Regions from separate parts of the Homo sapiens genome. Here regions 1 and 3 are each linked to region 2. The links are contacts of gene promoters, found by promoter capture Hi-C in blood cells and fetal thymus (Javierre and others, 2016). All regions are on one chromosome and are shown on one strand. Each heading gives the region's core, a stretch centred on a gene start or on the middle of the fragment in contact. The rest is flanking DNA. Distances are from core to core; before and after follow the strand shown. Region 1 holds the start of OXSR1 (oxidative stress responsive kinase 1). Region 2 holds the start of RPSA (ribosomal protein SA). Region 3 holds the start of ZNF619 (zinc finger protein 619).

Region 1 (4,562 bases), core at 575-3,074, 1.2 Mb before region 2:
AAAAGAGGTGAAGCTTTGTCTAAAAATTTCGGATCAGTAGAAAAGAATGTTAGCTACAGCTTGTGGGCATGACCTTCTTCAGGAAGAAGAAACTTAGAGAAAAAACAAACCACCAGTCAGAGTTCAGTCCTTAGCTCCCCATTCTCTGAGGTCTATGTGCCAGCAGATCCATTTGGTGGGGGTCTGGGTTTCTAAAAAACAACTCAGGGACATGTGTTGATGTTATCTTTAGTTTTTATAGGGAACCAAACATCCAGTTATTTTAGTTTCTTTGGCTAATGTTTAAAGTTATTACTGCCCTCTTGCTTATCAAGGGGTTCATTAACTTTTCAAGGCTAGCTAAGTGCCGGGAATTTCTCTTGAAGTAACTCAAGATTTTCCTTTATTTCCATGGTTGAGGGCCTGCAGGCCCTAAAAGGGGTCCCTGCTCCGTCTCAGCTGGGCCTAGGTGAAGGTCTCTTCCTTTTTCTGAGACGGTGTCTCCGTCTGTTGCCCAGACTGGAGTGCAGTGGCATGCTCTCGGGTCACTGCAACCTTCGCCTCCTGCTTCAGCCTCCCTAGTAGCTGGGATTACAGGCGCCAGCCACCACGCCCAGCGATTTTTCTGTATTTTAGTAGAGAGGGAGTTTCACCATGTTGGTCAGGATGGTCTCGAACTCCTGACCTCAGGTGGTCCGCCCGCCTCCGCCTCCCAAAGTGTTGGGATTACAGGCGTGAGCCACCGCACCCGGCCTAAGGTCTCTTCCTTAAAGACTGCCGTTGGACTGAAAGGTGTCCAACCTAGAACAGTTTCGCACCTAGCCCTATCCCTGTTGGATGCTCATTATTTTTTAAAATCCAATTTACCAAGCGTGTTCAGTCTTCAGCTCGCTAATTTCTCTAACGGCCGTACGTAGTCAAACTGAGAAAACTGTTCAGTGGGGGCGACAAAAGCCAACGCCCGTGAGACAACCCCCAAATCCGTGGGTCGATCTCACTTGTTTAATACCCCAAGCCCTGTCCGGGGGGAAGAAAGACAACCTCCCGAGTCCCTCAAGGCAGGTGCTTATTTGAGCTTCAGATCTAAAGCTGCGAATGGACAGAACCCGCCCAGTGCAGGGTGGACCCGCGAGAGACAGCGCCGCGACAAGCGTTAGAGAGAACGTCCGCCTTGAAAAAAATGTCACCAGGCAAACTTCCAGTTTCACTCCGACCAGTGGCCCAAGGCCTTTTATCCTAGTTGGCAGTGGTCCACACCCAAAGGCTACCCCACCCAGCCGCTCCCTCAGGGTTTCTCCACACCCTGTAGAGCCTTTCGCACGTCTCGAGGGTGTGACGGTTACGCCGTGACGTCACTCCAGAGGAAGTGGTAAGACGAGCGCGGTAACGGAGCTCTTGAAGGGCTGCAGCCCTAACACGGAGAAGCGCGCTAAGAGCCTGGAGGCGGGACCAATTTATGACTGACGTCTACCCACACCCATTGCTTTTCTGATTCCTTCTCAAACAAACCAATGAATGCGACGACGGAGACAGCAGCGTGCCCCAGGCGCTAGAAGTGGCTCTGCCCCTTCTACTTTGCTGCCCTTTGGTCGCCATGCTTAGTGTGGCTACTGCCTCTGTGCTACTTGAGGCTCTCCTACGGCTTTTCGATGCCTTCGATGAACCTCTACCTAAGCACTTCTTCCCTTTCACCGCGAACTCCTACCTTCTCGGGTTTCTAGCTTGCTCACTTTACATCCAGCCACACTGGAGATGGCGGCCGGAGGCGGGCCCGAGGTGGGGCGTGACCAGCGCAGTGACGTCAGCGCGCTGCGTGTCGGCAGGTGGAGGAAGAGGGGAAAGTTTGGCCCGTGCGTGGGGCTGGGGTGGAGGGCGGGACAGAGGGGCTGGGCCCAGGCAAAGCTTCTGTCGCTGCTGCTGCGGAGGCCGAGGACAGGACGTGGGCTGGGCCGGGCAGTGCCGGACTCGGAGGAGCAGGAGGCGAGGTCCGCCGGAGCTCTGAGCCCCCGCTGCTCTGCCGCGCGGTGACCCCGCGCCCCGGCGCCGTCCGACCCGTGGCTGTTCCGAGACGATTGGTGGGGGCGCGGCGGCGGCGGCGGCGGCTGTTGGGGGTGGGGAGACGCGCGGCGAGGAGACGAGCGAGGTCAGCGAGTTTGAGGGAGGACCGCGAGCCGCTGCCGCCGTCATGTCCGAGGACTCGAGCGCCCTGCCCTGGTCCATCAACAGGGACGATTACGAGCTGCAGGAGGTGATCGGTGAGAGCAGGCGCTGCGGAGGGGGGAGGCGCGGCGCTGGGAGGCGGGGGACACGGGAACGTGGGGAGCCGCGGGAGCTCGGGGAGCGCAGCCCTCATAGGAATTCGTGGGGCGCTTGTGGGGCTGGGGGCTTGTAGGACGCTTGTGTCGAGGAGCGCGTGTGAGACGGGAAGGGGGTTTTGAGGCGCGCGCCTGTGAGGTGGCGTGGGGTGGGGTGAGGCTTGAGGGGGCTCAGGAGAGATTTGTGTACAGGATTCTCAAATGTGTGGACAGGAGCGGCCCATGTGTCTTGTAGAGAAAGAAAGTGCAGGTGTGGGACAGGCCTTTCCGAGGCTGTGTGAGAAATGGGATCTTGAAGTGGGCACAGCCATCGATTTCTGGGATTGTGGGATAGATAGGGAGCTTTAAGTTTTTCCTCCATCCGTGCTGGGGCGAACTGGGGATCCTCCAGGTGAAGCTGCAGGAACCGCGCTGAGCAACCGAGACCCAACTTACGACTCCTTCCAACTGACTTTCCAGTCGGGGAGGTAGACATTAAATAAGAAGACAAAAAGAAGTAAGAAGGGCTGGGCGTGGTGGCTCACGCCTGTAATCCCACCACTTTGGGAGGCCGAGGCGGGCGGATCACGAGGTCGGGGGTTCGAGACCAGCCTGGCCAATATGGTGAAACCCCGTCTCTACTAAAAATACAAAAATTAGTTGGGTGTGGTGGTGCGCGCCTGTAATCCCAGCTACTCGGGAGGCTGAGGCAGAAGAATCCTTGAACCCGGGAGGCGGAGCTTGCAGTGAGCTGAGATCGCGCCACTGCACTCCAGCCTGGGCGACAAACCCTGACTCTGACTCAAAAAAAAAAAAAAAAAAAAAAAAATTTGAAGAGGCTTTGGCAAGTGCCATGAAGGAGATAAACAAGATGTTCTGATAGAGAATAACCTGGAGATCTACTTAGGGTGATTTCAAGGAAAATTCTTTTTCTGAGGCGATAACATTTCAGTTGAGCCCTGAAGCATGAGAAGTGAGGATTAAGAGCCTCGGGAAGATTTTTCCTTACAGAGGGATATAGAGATGCAGTGGCCTTGAGTAAGGGAAGAGCTTGATTTGTTTTAGGACCTGAAGGAAGGCTGGCAAGGATAGAGAGGGAAGGGAGGAGCCAGATCTTAGGGATCTTCTCAGCTTTGGTACAGATTTTGGAATTTTAAGTATCACTGGAGGCCCTCAAATAGTGCCTTGACGTGATCCGATAAATTGGGCTGGTGTGTGAAAAGATTTGAAGGGGGTCCAGGAATACCAGTTGGCAGAGACCAAAACTTGCACATAGATTGTAATTCTCACAGAAGCCTAGGGATTGGGAGGAGGCTGGGGACTGGGGATGAGGGGAGTATTTGTTGGACAACAATAACCCAGTGACCTTGGAAATCAAAATGTTTAGCTATACAGGCTCAATCCAACGGACATGAGCAGACACCTGTGTATTGGAGGAAGGCGAATTATCTGCTTTGCCAGCATCCTGCCCTAAAATTAGTTTTATAACAAAGACCAACTGAAGACTTCCTAGCTGCCTTGGGGGTGTCAGTGTTTATTTCACTGTGGGTTTAAAAAGAACTTCGTGAAATAATTTTTGTTTTTACTTGCCTCTTGTTTTAAGACAATCTGGGCTTAAAGCAATATTGGTTCGTATAGGAAAAACAAAAACAAAACAAAACAACTCGGACTAAATAAAGACATCACATCTTTGCTTAAGCCACTTCATGGGCCTGTGTCCTTGCTACATATTGGGTCTTTGACATGTATTCGTTGGTTCTAAAGACAGCTAGTTCCCGGTCTGGACTGATTGCTTCTGGTTCCCCCAGTCAGAGTTTCATATTGAAGGAAAGGATTAAATGGAAGATTCCAAAATGATGTCAGAGAAGTAAAGAGGAGGTTCCCTATCATCATTTTAAAAGAAGAGTTTTTTTTTTTTTTTTCTGGTAGTGTATCCATCTTTCTAGGGTGAAGAGGATGGTTGTAGTCATTCTCAAAGCCTTTGCTGTTAAGGTGGCAGAGAATTTCAGAGTTGCAAAGGCGCTAGAGATTTCGTGATTTGTTAATTTGGTGTCCTCAGACCCATAGGATGTCTGTGAGTGGGCAAAAGGGAGTCTCTCAGTCTTCTGGATAGGGTTAGTGTTCCTCACATTCACAAAGTGGTCCATGGTTTTTAAAAGGTTAGGAACTCCAATGTGATTTGACCATCTTTCATAGATTTAAAACAACTTTACTGAGGTATAATTTAATATAAAATTCACCCATTTTAAGTGTAACATTTAGTGGTTTTTAGTAAATTCCCTGTGTCGT
Region 2 (4,736 bases), core at 763-3,262:
AACAAGAGCAAAACTCCGTCTCAAAAAAAAAAAGTGTATGTTTCTTCTCCTGTTAATTTGTCTATTGTCAGTTCATTTTAGCAGTGAACACTCAGAGGGTGGAGGGGAAGCCCCTACAAGAGCTTTAAAAGCTACTGATGCTTGGGTCTCACTCAGAGATTCTGATATATTCAGCCCAGGTGTAAGATTTTAAAAGCTGCCCAGGTGATCCTAATGCCAAGGCTGAGGCCCCTGGAGGAACCCTGCAGAGCTGCACTCACTACTCAGCAATCCCAATCCACACGTGAAGGGTTAAGCAGGAGTACATTTGGGTGCAGGGGGCAGGGCATTGTTTTGGGACTCAGGGGCCTCTGAGGAGGCTTGTGGCCTGAGTTTCTGCCAACAAACTGAATGCCTCCTCTTCCCATAACAAAGCGTAGAAGCGGGAGGCATTTGCATTTGCCGCAAGGGGCTGTGACTTCTCTGAATTTGTCCCTCAAGCCCCAGGTGCTTCAGCCTTGGTGGGTGATGAAGCAGAGCAGCCTGGGGGTGACCTGTGCTAGGGTCCAAGGGTTTCCAAGCTCCTCAGAAAATCATACTGGCTTCAGTGGAGCTGCAGAGCCACTTGCAGGAGAACCTGGATGTGCTGTCCTTTGGAAGAGTGGCCATAAGGGTCTACGAGTTCATTTTAGGGTGGGCTCAGAAATCAGATTGACTCAGCAGGCCCCAGAGAGGAACCTGCACTTTTTTTTTTTTTGACGGAGTCTTACTCTGTCGCCCAGGCTGGAGTGCAAGTGGCGCAATCTCCACTCACTACAACCTCTGCCTCCTGGGTTCAAGCAATTCTCCCGCCTCAGCCTCCCCAGTAGCTGGGATTACAGGCATGCCTGGCTAATTTTTGAATTTTTAGTAGATACCGGGTTTCGCCATGTTGGCCAGGCTGGTCTCTTGAACTCCTGGCCTCAAGGGATCCGCCCGCGTCAGCCTCCGAAAGTGCTGGGATTACAGCCACCGCGCCCCTTCAATTAACTCCTATTTTTTTGTTTGTTTTTTGGAGACAGAATTTCGCTCTATTGCCCAGGCTGGAGTGCAGCGGTGCAATCACATTCACTGCAGACTTGACCTCTAGGCTCAAGCTATCCTCCTGCCTCAGCCTCCTGAGTAGCTGAGACTACAGGGACGCACCATCATGATTGGTTAATTTTTGTATTTTTTGTGGAGATGGGGGTCTCCCCATGTTTCCCAGGCTAGTCTTGAACTTCTGAGCTCAGGCAATCCACCCACCTCGGCCTCCCAAAGTGCTGGGATTACAGGCACAAGCCACCGCGCCCGGCAAACTTATCTCCTACTGATGGATATTGCAAAATTTTTCTTCTACCAAAAAAAAAAAAAAAAAAAAGATAGATATAATCCATACCATCTGTTCAATCTTGTCCTTTTTAACTTTTTCAGGGAAACTTCCCCCAGGTGATAGATGGATAGATACATGAGATAGACATAACGCATACGATCAGTTCAATCTTATCTTTTTTAACTTTTTCAGAGAAAACTTCCCTTAAGTGAACATTTAAATCTGAATTACGTCCTGTTAAACTGTTCTCCAGGAAAATAAAATAAAATAAATCTTCAAGTTTTTGTTTACCTAACAATTTGTTGTGTCGAACAAACCTTCCTACTTTTCAGGTAACAAAATGGCAGCTTAGGCTAGAAAGCCGCTCATATTCGCAGGTACAAGGGCTGGGTAAGAACGCCCCGCCTGGCTGACTAACTTGAGTTCCGCGCTCTGGACAGGAATTATGCACAGGGCGTCGCTGTGGCACTAGAAACCCCAAAGTCACAAGCGCCCCAGATCCGACCAGGATGCCGCTACCGGCTACAGCCCAGAGGCCCGCTCCTGCGGCGCAAGCCCGCCTTCCTGAAGAAAAAGCCCAGTCCCGGCAGCGTTCTTCTCCGGCTCCGCCCTTCTTCCGCTCGACTTTCTTTGCCATTGGCTGACAACGGAGTACATAAGGACGTCATTTCCTGCCGCCTGTCTTTTCCGTGCTACCTGCAGAGGGGTCCATACGGCGTTGTTCTGGGTGAGTTCCGTGTAGCGTCCCTGGCGCCTTCCAGGGCTAGAAAAATGAGCTTTTCCTGCTCAAATGAAGGGTGAGAAGACTAGTGATGAAAGCCGGTCAGACTGGATCTGTCTCCCGCCCGGCGCGCCCCACCTTAGGCCTGCGGCCCGCACGTGGCCAGGCTCGGGCTGGCGGGTTCCCAGAGTGCCCCGGGAGCGGGTGGAGGCCGCCCTCCAGCGGAGGCTCCGAGCTGGGGTTCGGACCAGGCCGCGGGTGGGCGGGAGTGCAGAAAGCGGGCTAACATCCTGTGTTGCTATCCCTTCGGAGTCCCACACGGCGGTGAGTCTAGGCCCAGGCGCTGATTTACACCAGCTACTTGGGCTGGTCGGGTTTTCCCTTCGCGCCGTGCGGGTCAGGAGTTAAGGTTCTCGGGTTTTTAGACAAACAAGTGGTGACAGCACAGCGAAGTAATTCCAAAGCATCCGCCTACAATCTGCTTGAAAATGTCTGAAAACAATTCATGCCTTTTTTGCCTTTAGTTTGCATATTCCAAACATGGCTGCTCTTTTGTATCTAGTTGTTAACTTGGCGCATCCACAACTTTTCCTTAATTCCTATCTTGAGAAGTGTTGAATTTCCATTCGCTAATTTCGTGTAGTTTTATTACTCGGTTACTCTGCCGTCCACACTATTTCCTCAGTAAGATGTGCGCTGTTCCGTAATACACGACATGTATGGGTTAACTTTCTGTTTACCCTTCACTACACTGTAAGCTCAATGCCTGACACTATAGCAGATGGAGTTTTTGGTTGCTTTTAAGGGTGTGCCCTACTTAACTCAATGGAATGAAAAGAAATAGGTTGCTCTCTTATTTCAGATTCCCGTCGTAACTTAAAGGGAAATTTTCACAATGTCCGGAGCCCTTGATGTCCTGCAAATGAAGGAGGAGGATGTCCTTAAGTTCCTTGCAGCAGGAACCCACTTAGGTGGCACCAATCTTGACTTCCAGATGGAACAGTACATCTATAAAAGGAAAAGTGATGGTTAGTCATTGCTTTAATTTTTTGTTACTCCAGCTGTAAGTACAAATTTTGAGCTTGCTATTCTCGTGGTTAGTTCTGGGTAATTTCTTTCTATCTTCCTTAAATGAAGCCAGACCCCTACGTTGAAAACATACTTTAAATAAATGTTCTTGTTATTGAGAGAAAAGATTTCTGCTCCAGGGGAGGAATATGTCAGTTGTCTGAGTTACGGGACTTGGGTTGGGTCATGAACATGAGAAAGTTCATTGGCTGAGTTTCTAATAGCTCGCATAGTGCCTTCAACTTCATAGGTACTTACACAGGCTATTGAACTGAATTTTGAGTGGAAAGTGGGGTAAGAGGTGGGAATGAACAATATGGTTTGGAAGAACCAGAGGATGGAAGGCATTAAGTTGGCTAAGGCACTTACTTATTTTAGAGATAAAGCTACCAAGGACTTGGGAGTGACATGCTGTAAAGGAGTTTTAGGATGAATCTTGCATCAGTGCAGATTATAAAAGGGAAAGAGTGGCAGAAAGCCAGGAAGTGGATTATTAAGAACCAATGATGGAATAAGTACAGGGAAAGAGAAAGGAAAGATGGATTTAGCCAACTGAATCTAGGCTGCACACTATTAAAGCTCAGGGTGGAGGCCAGTCTTGGCTCATGAACTTCTGAGTGTCGGAAGTGTGCTATATCAATGGCAGGATTTTCGCTAACACCAGTAGAGCTTGCCTCTATGACTGGAGTTTGGTAGTACTCGCTGCCACATAGAGTAAACTTGAGAAGAATGTTTGCACAGCCAGGTCAAGTGTTACAAATCCTTCTGCCCTCACTTAGGCATCTATATCATAAATCTCAAGAGGACCTGGGAGAAGCTTCTGCTGGCAGCTCGTGCAATTGTTGCCATTGAAAACCCTGCTGATGTCAGTGTTATATCCTCCAGGAATACTGGCCAGGTTTGTGGAACAGTGGTTAGTTTTTATATTATAGAAATAAAGCTTACAGACATTGTGAGACATAGAAAGACATAAGAAAACAGAAATAACTCAGGCCGGGCGCGGTGGCTACGCCTGTAATCCCAGCACTTTGGGAGGTGGAGTCCGGCGTATTACGAGGTCAGGAGATCCACACCACGGTGAAGCCCCATCTCTACTAAAAATACAAAAAATTAGTTGGGCGTGGGGGCGGGTGCCTGTAGTCCCAGCTACTCAGGAGGCCAAAGTGGAGAATGGCGTGAACCCGGTGGGCGGAGCTTGCAGTGAGCTGAGATGCGCCACTGTACTCCAGCCTGGGTGACAGAGCCGAGACTCTGTCTCAAAAAAAAAAAAAAAGAAAATAGAAAACTCAAACTCCACTGTTAAGAGATCTTAAGTTGGACTGAGCCATAGAAATCGCCCTTATGACCTATGACCTTCCTTTTTTTTTTTTTTTTTTTTTTTCCTTCAAGACAGTCTCTCGCTCTGTTGCCTGTTGTCCATCCTGGACTGCAGTGGTGTGATATCGGCTCATTGCAGCCTTTGCCTCCTAAGCTCAAGGGATTCTCCTGCCTCATCCTCCCGAGTAGCTGGAATTACAGGCATGTGCCACCATGCCTGACTGATTTTTGTATTTTTAGTAGAGACATGGTTTTACCATTTGGCCAGGCTGGTCTTAAACGCCTGATCTCAAGTGATCC
Region 3 (4,875 bases), core at 744-3,243, 1.1 Mb after region 2:
TAGCTCCATCCGGAAAGGAGGGACAACTCGAAGTGGGGAGTGTGGGGGCACCTTCCAGGGCGTAGGTGGATTCAAAGATTTCCTTTCCTTTCCTTTCCTTTTTCCTTTCCTTTCCTTTCCTTTCCTTTCCTTTCCTTTCTTTTCTTTTGAAGATTTCTAACTGGCAATTAGTTGAAAGAGTTATGGACTGGGCACGGTGGCTCACGCCTGTAATCCCAGCACTTTGGGAGGCCGAGGCGGGCGGATCACGAGGTCAGGAGATCGAGACCATCCTGGCTAACACGGTGAAACCCCGTCTCTACTAAAAATACAAAAAATTAGCTGGGCATGGTGGCGGGCGCCTGTAGTTCCAGCTACTCAGGAGGCTGAGGCAGGAGAATGGCATGAGCCCGGGAGGCAGAGCTTGCAGTGAGCCGAGATCGCGCCACTGCACTGCAGCCTGGGCGACAGAGCAAGACTCTGTCTCAAAAAAAAAAAAAAAAAAAAAAAGTTATTAGCTAAAGACCTGGAATCAATTGAAGGGAATGTCTGAGTTAAGATAAGGGGTTTTGGAGACCAATGTTCTTATTATGCAGATGAAACCTCCAGGTAGCAGGCTTCAGAGAGAAACGATTGTAAATGTTTCTTACCAGACTTCAAAAGGTGCCAAACTCTTAGTTAATTCTCTACTGGATCAAGGAAAACACTTTGAAAGTGAAGGGGATTCTTTACAGGATGTAGATTTTCTTCACAAAAGACAGCTTTACAGGGTCATTTCAAAATATGTCAAAGAAATACATTTTAGGGTAAAATACTTCAGTTTATTTCAGGGCCTGTTATCTGTCACATGAGACTATACTAGAGTCAGGTTAGAATTTGATGTCTTATTGCTATAAAGAGTTTGTTTTGGGCTGGGCGTGGTGGCTCACGCCTGTAATCCCAGCACTTTGGGAGGCCGAGGCGGGCGATCACGAGGTCTAGTTCAAGACCAGCCTGGTCAACATGGTGAAATCCCGTCTCTACTAAGAATACAAAAATTAGCCGGGCGTGTTGGCACGTTCCTGTAATCCCAGCTACTCAGGAGGCTGAGGCAGGAGAATTGCTTGAACCCGGGAGGCGGAGGTTGCAGTGAGCCGAGATCGGGAAACTGTACTCCAGCCTGGGCTACAGAGTAAGACTCCATCTCGGAAAAAAAAAAAAAAAGTTTTAGTCAGTCTCAAGATCTCTGTTTTAATGTTAATGCTGGTCCGTAGTGCCTGAATTCCAAGGGCATAACGAGGCAAGTCCGATCCCCTGCTTCCCATCATGGCCTGAACTAGATTGCCAGGTTTTCTTTGGAATGTTTTGGCTGAGAGAAGTGGTCCATTCAGTTGGTTGGGGGACTTAGAATTTTATTTTTGGTTTACAAAACTGTTGCATGAATTGACTCAGTTAATTCACTGAATTTATAAATTACAAACTTTTACCATTCTCAACTGATAAATTGAGGCAACGATTTAAGTATAACTTGAGCAAGTCCATATAGAGTGGAGCCAGGAACGCAGACAATGAGACACCATACCCCATGGTCTTAGGTCACAGTCATTCAGTGGGAGACAGGGGCTATAAATTCATTAGAAGGTTAAGTTAGGAATTAAGTAATTAGGTAAGGAATTAGGAATTCAGTTAATTAAGTTACAAATTGTTAAATATGGAGGAATTTATCATGTAGTTGGGGTACTAAGACATAAGAGAAAATAATAAAGAAAAACAGGAGCGGCCGGGCGCGGTGGCTCACGCCTGTATTCCCAGCACTTTGGGAGGCCGAGGCGGGCGGACAGCTTGAGCTCAGGAGTTCGAGAACAGCCTGCGCAACATAGCGAGACCCCCGTTTCAAAAAACACACGAAAAAATTAAAATTAAAAAACAAACAAACCAGGCGCAGAGCGGTTGTGGAGAAGGGAAGCGAAGGGTTGGAGTTTCGTTTCGTGGGAACCATAGAGAAGGGCCAGCCTCCCGGCTTCCTAGAGAGGCTGTAGGGACCGACGGCCGGCCAGCTAATGCTTCCGTCTTGGCCACCTTGCGAGCGCTCGGGTTGAGTTTCCCGGGCTTCCCTGACTCGGCTACCTGTTCTGGAGGTCAGGCTTTGGGCCCTTGCAGAGGTCGCCGAGGGGCCCGCGCCGCCGCCAGAGCCTGGGCCCAGTCCCCAGTCTTCAGAGACGCCCTCGACCTTCCTGCTCCGAGGAGCTGGCCTGATGTCCTCGGGTCGCGGTATTCATGGGGAGGATGGGAGCCGTGACTATAGGGTCTCCTGCTTCCCAGGGTGGAGCGTTCAGATCCCGGTTAGGTCTTCGGTCAGCATCACCCGCTGGGACATTAAGCGTCTTACCCTTGTCACCCGGGGCTGGGTCACCACTTATATTTTGTCCTGCAGCCTGTGGTTTGTTTAGGGGTCCCCGTTATATCCTACTTTCTCTCCAGAGACTTGTTTTGGGTTTTTGCCATGAACACTAGAAGCATTCAATACAAACTGTTTAGTAATGCATTCATAGTGGGGCCAAGAATTTTTTTTAAAAAACAGCCACGAATCCACTGCAGTTCTTGACTCTTACTTTACAGATATTCTTTCTAGAGTTTCCAGTGTCACCAAGCAGATCTATAGGAGAATATGCAGAGGGAGCATTTGCAACATCCCATGAATCAGTGGAGAGGGTGAATGACAGCAGCTAGTGTGCCAAGAATATCTGCAATGCTAGTGGCAGGAGACAGAGGGGAAGAGGCGGCAAGTGTAGGAGACGAGACAGATCAGTCTCATTGTGGTTCTCTCTTAGCTCCGCAGGTTCTTACTTTTTCAAACCTAGAGGGCAGTGCATGAAGCCAGGGGTCATCAGCCATGCTCCAGACAGTGTGGTTCCAGGTGAGCAGAGCTTTCTTTCAGCTTTCCATACTCAGAACAGATATGGAAGGTCAGTACAGCCCCAGTAGCCTGACTTGGCCAGTCTCATGCTTAGTTTTACATCCTTCAATAAAGTATGTAAAAACAGTATGCGAGGGGAGTTGACGAACGAGAGTAGGTGAATTTGGGAGAGTCAGGTAGGTTGGAAAAGAAGGAATGAATTATCCTAGAAAGTGGGAATCTGCATTCATGAGAACTGAAAGTGTGGCCTGGAGATGAGCAGCTTTTGCATTACAGAGGGCTCTTGTTAGGCAAAATGTCAGGCCCCCTCCCCAGATCTCCTAAATCAGAATCTACATTTTTACAAGATCTGGAAAATTAAAGGGCAGATTAAAATTTGAGGAGTGCTAGTCTGCGTTCACAGTACACAAAGAAAAGCCATTTCTGAGGTTAAATAGACACTTCCAAGGGAGGAGTTTACCCTGCAGACCACTCAGTTAAGGTACAGTGAAGCCAGAACTGGAAACATGTGGAAAATGTAGATTGATGAGGGAGATGTATTTTTGGAGGAATGATGAGTTTGGAGCTGAAGCCAGTGCCTTTAGCTCAATGCGAAGACGTCAGTCTAACCTCTGTGAGAGTCTATATCCTTTCTTGGCTACAAATTCATGTAGCATTGGGAGGACTTTTCCCTCCAGTTTTCTTGGTGGTAGATGATGGTTTTACTGGATTTTTCTCCAGTGTCCTAGATCATGGAATGAGAAAGCTGAGTTTATCATGTAATGGATGTATCTTGTAATGAGAAAGCTCCATCCCAAGGACTTAAAAACAATGTGTGTGTCCTTTTGGTGGATATTGGACCATCCACTTCTGTTCGAGAACTTCAGCAAAAATTCATTCCTACAAGTCAGGAAGTGTGCTGTGGGGGTATGCTGTGCTCTCCTGGTGCTTTGCCTGAAGTACAGAAATCACTTAGGATTAGATTCCCCAAAGAGGACCCCAAATGACAGTGGATTAAACGAGGTAAAGGCTTCTCTCTCATACAAAAGTATCAAGAGTCAATACAGGGCTAGTGTGGCAGCTCCCCTATTATGCTCTCAGGCTCTGTCTTTCTGCTCTACCATCCTAGCAGTGTCTCACCTGCTCTAGGCCACTTTATTGTCCAAGGTGGCTGCTTGATCTCTAGCCATCATGTGTGCATTCCAGCTAGAAGAGGAGCTGCCCAAAAAAAGATGAACCTCTCTCTTTTAGGAACCTTCCCATAAGTCCCCAACAATATTTATACTTGCATTTCATTGGCCCCACTTGGTTGCCCGGGTTGAGTGCAACCTCAAGTAAAATTAGGATTCCAATACTAAGAAAGAAAGGGGGTACACACACACCTGTCAGTCTTTGCTACAATCTCTAAGAGGAACATTTGTCATTTAGAATCTTCTAGGAAGTTCCCCCAATCTCATCTGTGGTTGTAGTAAGTGCTGAGATTTAGATGATATCATGTGCCAGGTGATATCTTCGTGCGTTACAGATAATAACTTAATGCCATTCTTGTAAGAGTCCTTTCAGATAATTACTATTGTTATCCCAGTTTTACAAATGGGGGCAACTGAGGCACAGAAAGTTTAATTGTCTCATCCAAAGTTAACAGCTAATGAGTATTAGAGATACTATTTGAACTTAGGGAGTCTAGCTTAGAGCAGGGTTTTTCAACCTTGGCATCATTTACATTTGGGCCAGATAATTCTTTGTTTGGGGGATGTCCTGTTCATTATAGGATATTCAGAAATGGCCCTGGCCCACTATCTACTAGATGCCAGTAGCACTACCATTACCACCACACTGCAGTTCTGACAACTAAAAATGTCTCCAGATATTGCCACATAGTCTCTGGGGGACAGAATTGCCCCCATGTTGAGAGCCATAGCCTTAACATCTGTGCCATTTGCCACTATGTTGTGCTGCCCCTGTAACCCACTTCCTATAGAAGGGAGTCAATAGCCCCACTTAATGGAGAAAGAGTAAGT

The links. The method cuts DNA at HindIII sites, captures the fragments that hold promoters and counts their contacts. A CHiCAGO score of 5 or more calls a contact.
Region 1: the fragment with the promoter of OXSR1 here is called in contact with the fragment with the promoter of RPSA in region 2 in 7 of 17 cell types (naive CD4 T cells, total B cells, naive CD8 T cells and 4 more); the score reaches 11.0 in naive CD4 T cells.
Region 3: a contact is called between the fragment with the promoter of ZNF619 here and the fragment with the promoter of RPSA in region 2, in 11 of 17 cell types (non-activated CD4 T cells, activated CD4 T cells, naive CD8 T cells and 8 more). The highest score is 10.1, in non-activated CD4 T cells.

What each region holds. Positions count from the first base shown.
Region 1 is chr3:38,163,713-38,168,274 of GRCh38, forward strand. It overlaps OXSR1 (oxidative stress responsive kinase 1), which reads left to right and starts at 1,825. Exons shown (of 18, transcript NM_005109.3): 1 at 1,825-2,234. The coding sequence starts at 2,165. LOC101928234 (a long non-coding RNA gene) reads right to left here and starts at 1,764. Exons shown (of 5, transcript XR_940733.2): 1 at 1,685-1,764. RefSeq lists enhancers at 500-1,699, 860-939, 1,090-1,219, 1,490-1,589, 1,983-2,598 and silencers at 1,830-2,219, 2,270-2,319. The HindIII fragment of the contact is 1,868 bases long and covers 12-1,879 here.
Region 2 is chr3:39,404,708-39,409,443 of GRCh38, forward strand. It overlaps RPSA (ribosomal protein SA), which reads left to right and starts at 2,013. Exons shown (of 7, transcript NM_002295.6): 1 at 2,013-2,057; 2 at 2,914-3,079; 3 at 3,899-4,017. The coding sequence starts at 2,947. SNORA6 (small nucleolar RNA, H/ACA box 6) reads left to right here and starts at 3,684; the gene lies at 3,684-3,832. RefSeq lists enhancers at 1-148, 1,734-2,525, 1,907-2,046, 4,111-4,736 and silencers at 2,217-2,396, 3,792-3,841. The HindIII fragment of the contact is 4,276 bases long and covers 1-3,934 here.
Region 3 is chr3:40,475,129-40,480,003 of GRCh38, forward strand. It overlaps ZNF619 (zinc finger protein 619), which reads left to right and starts at 1,994. Exons shown (of 5, transcript NM_001145093.4): 1 at 1,994-2,229; 2 at 2,790-2,875. The coding sequence starts at 2,852. RefSeq lists an enhancer at 2,168-2,307. The HindIII fragment of the contact is 7,181 bases long and covers 1-4,875 here.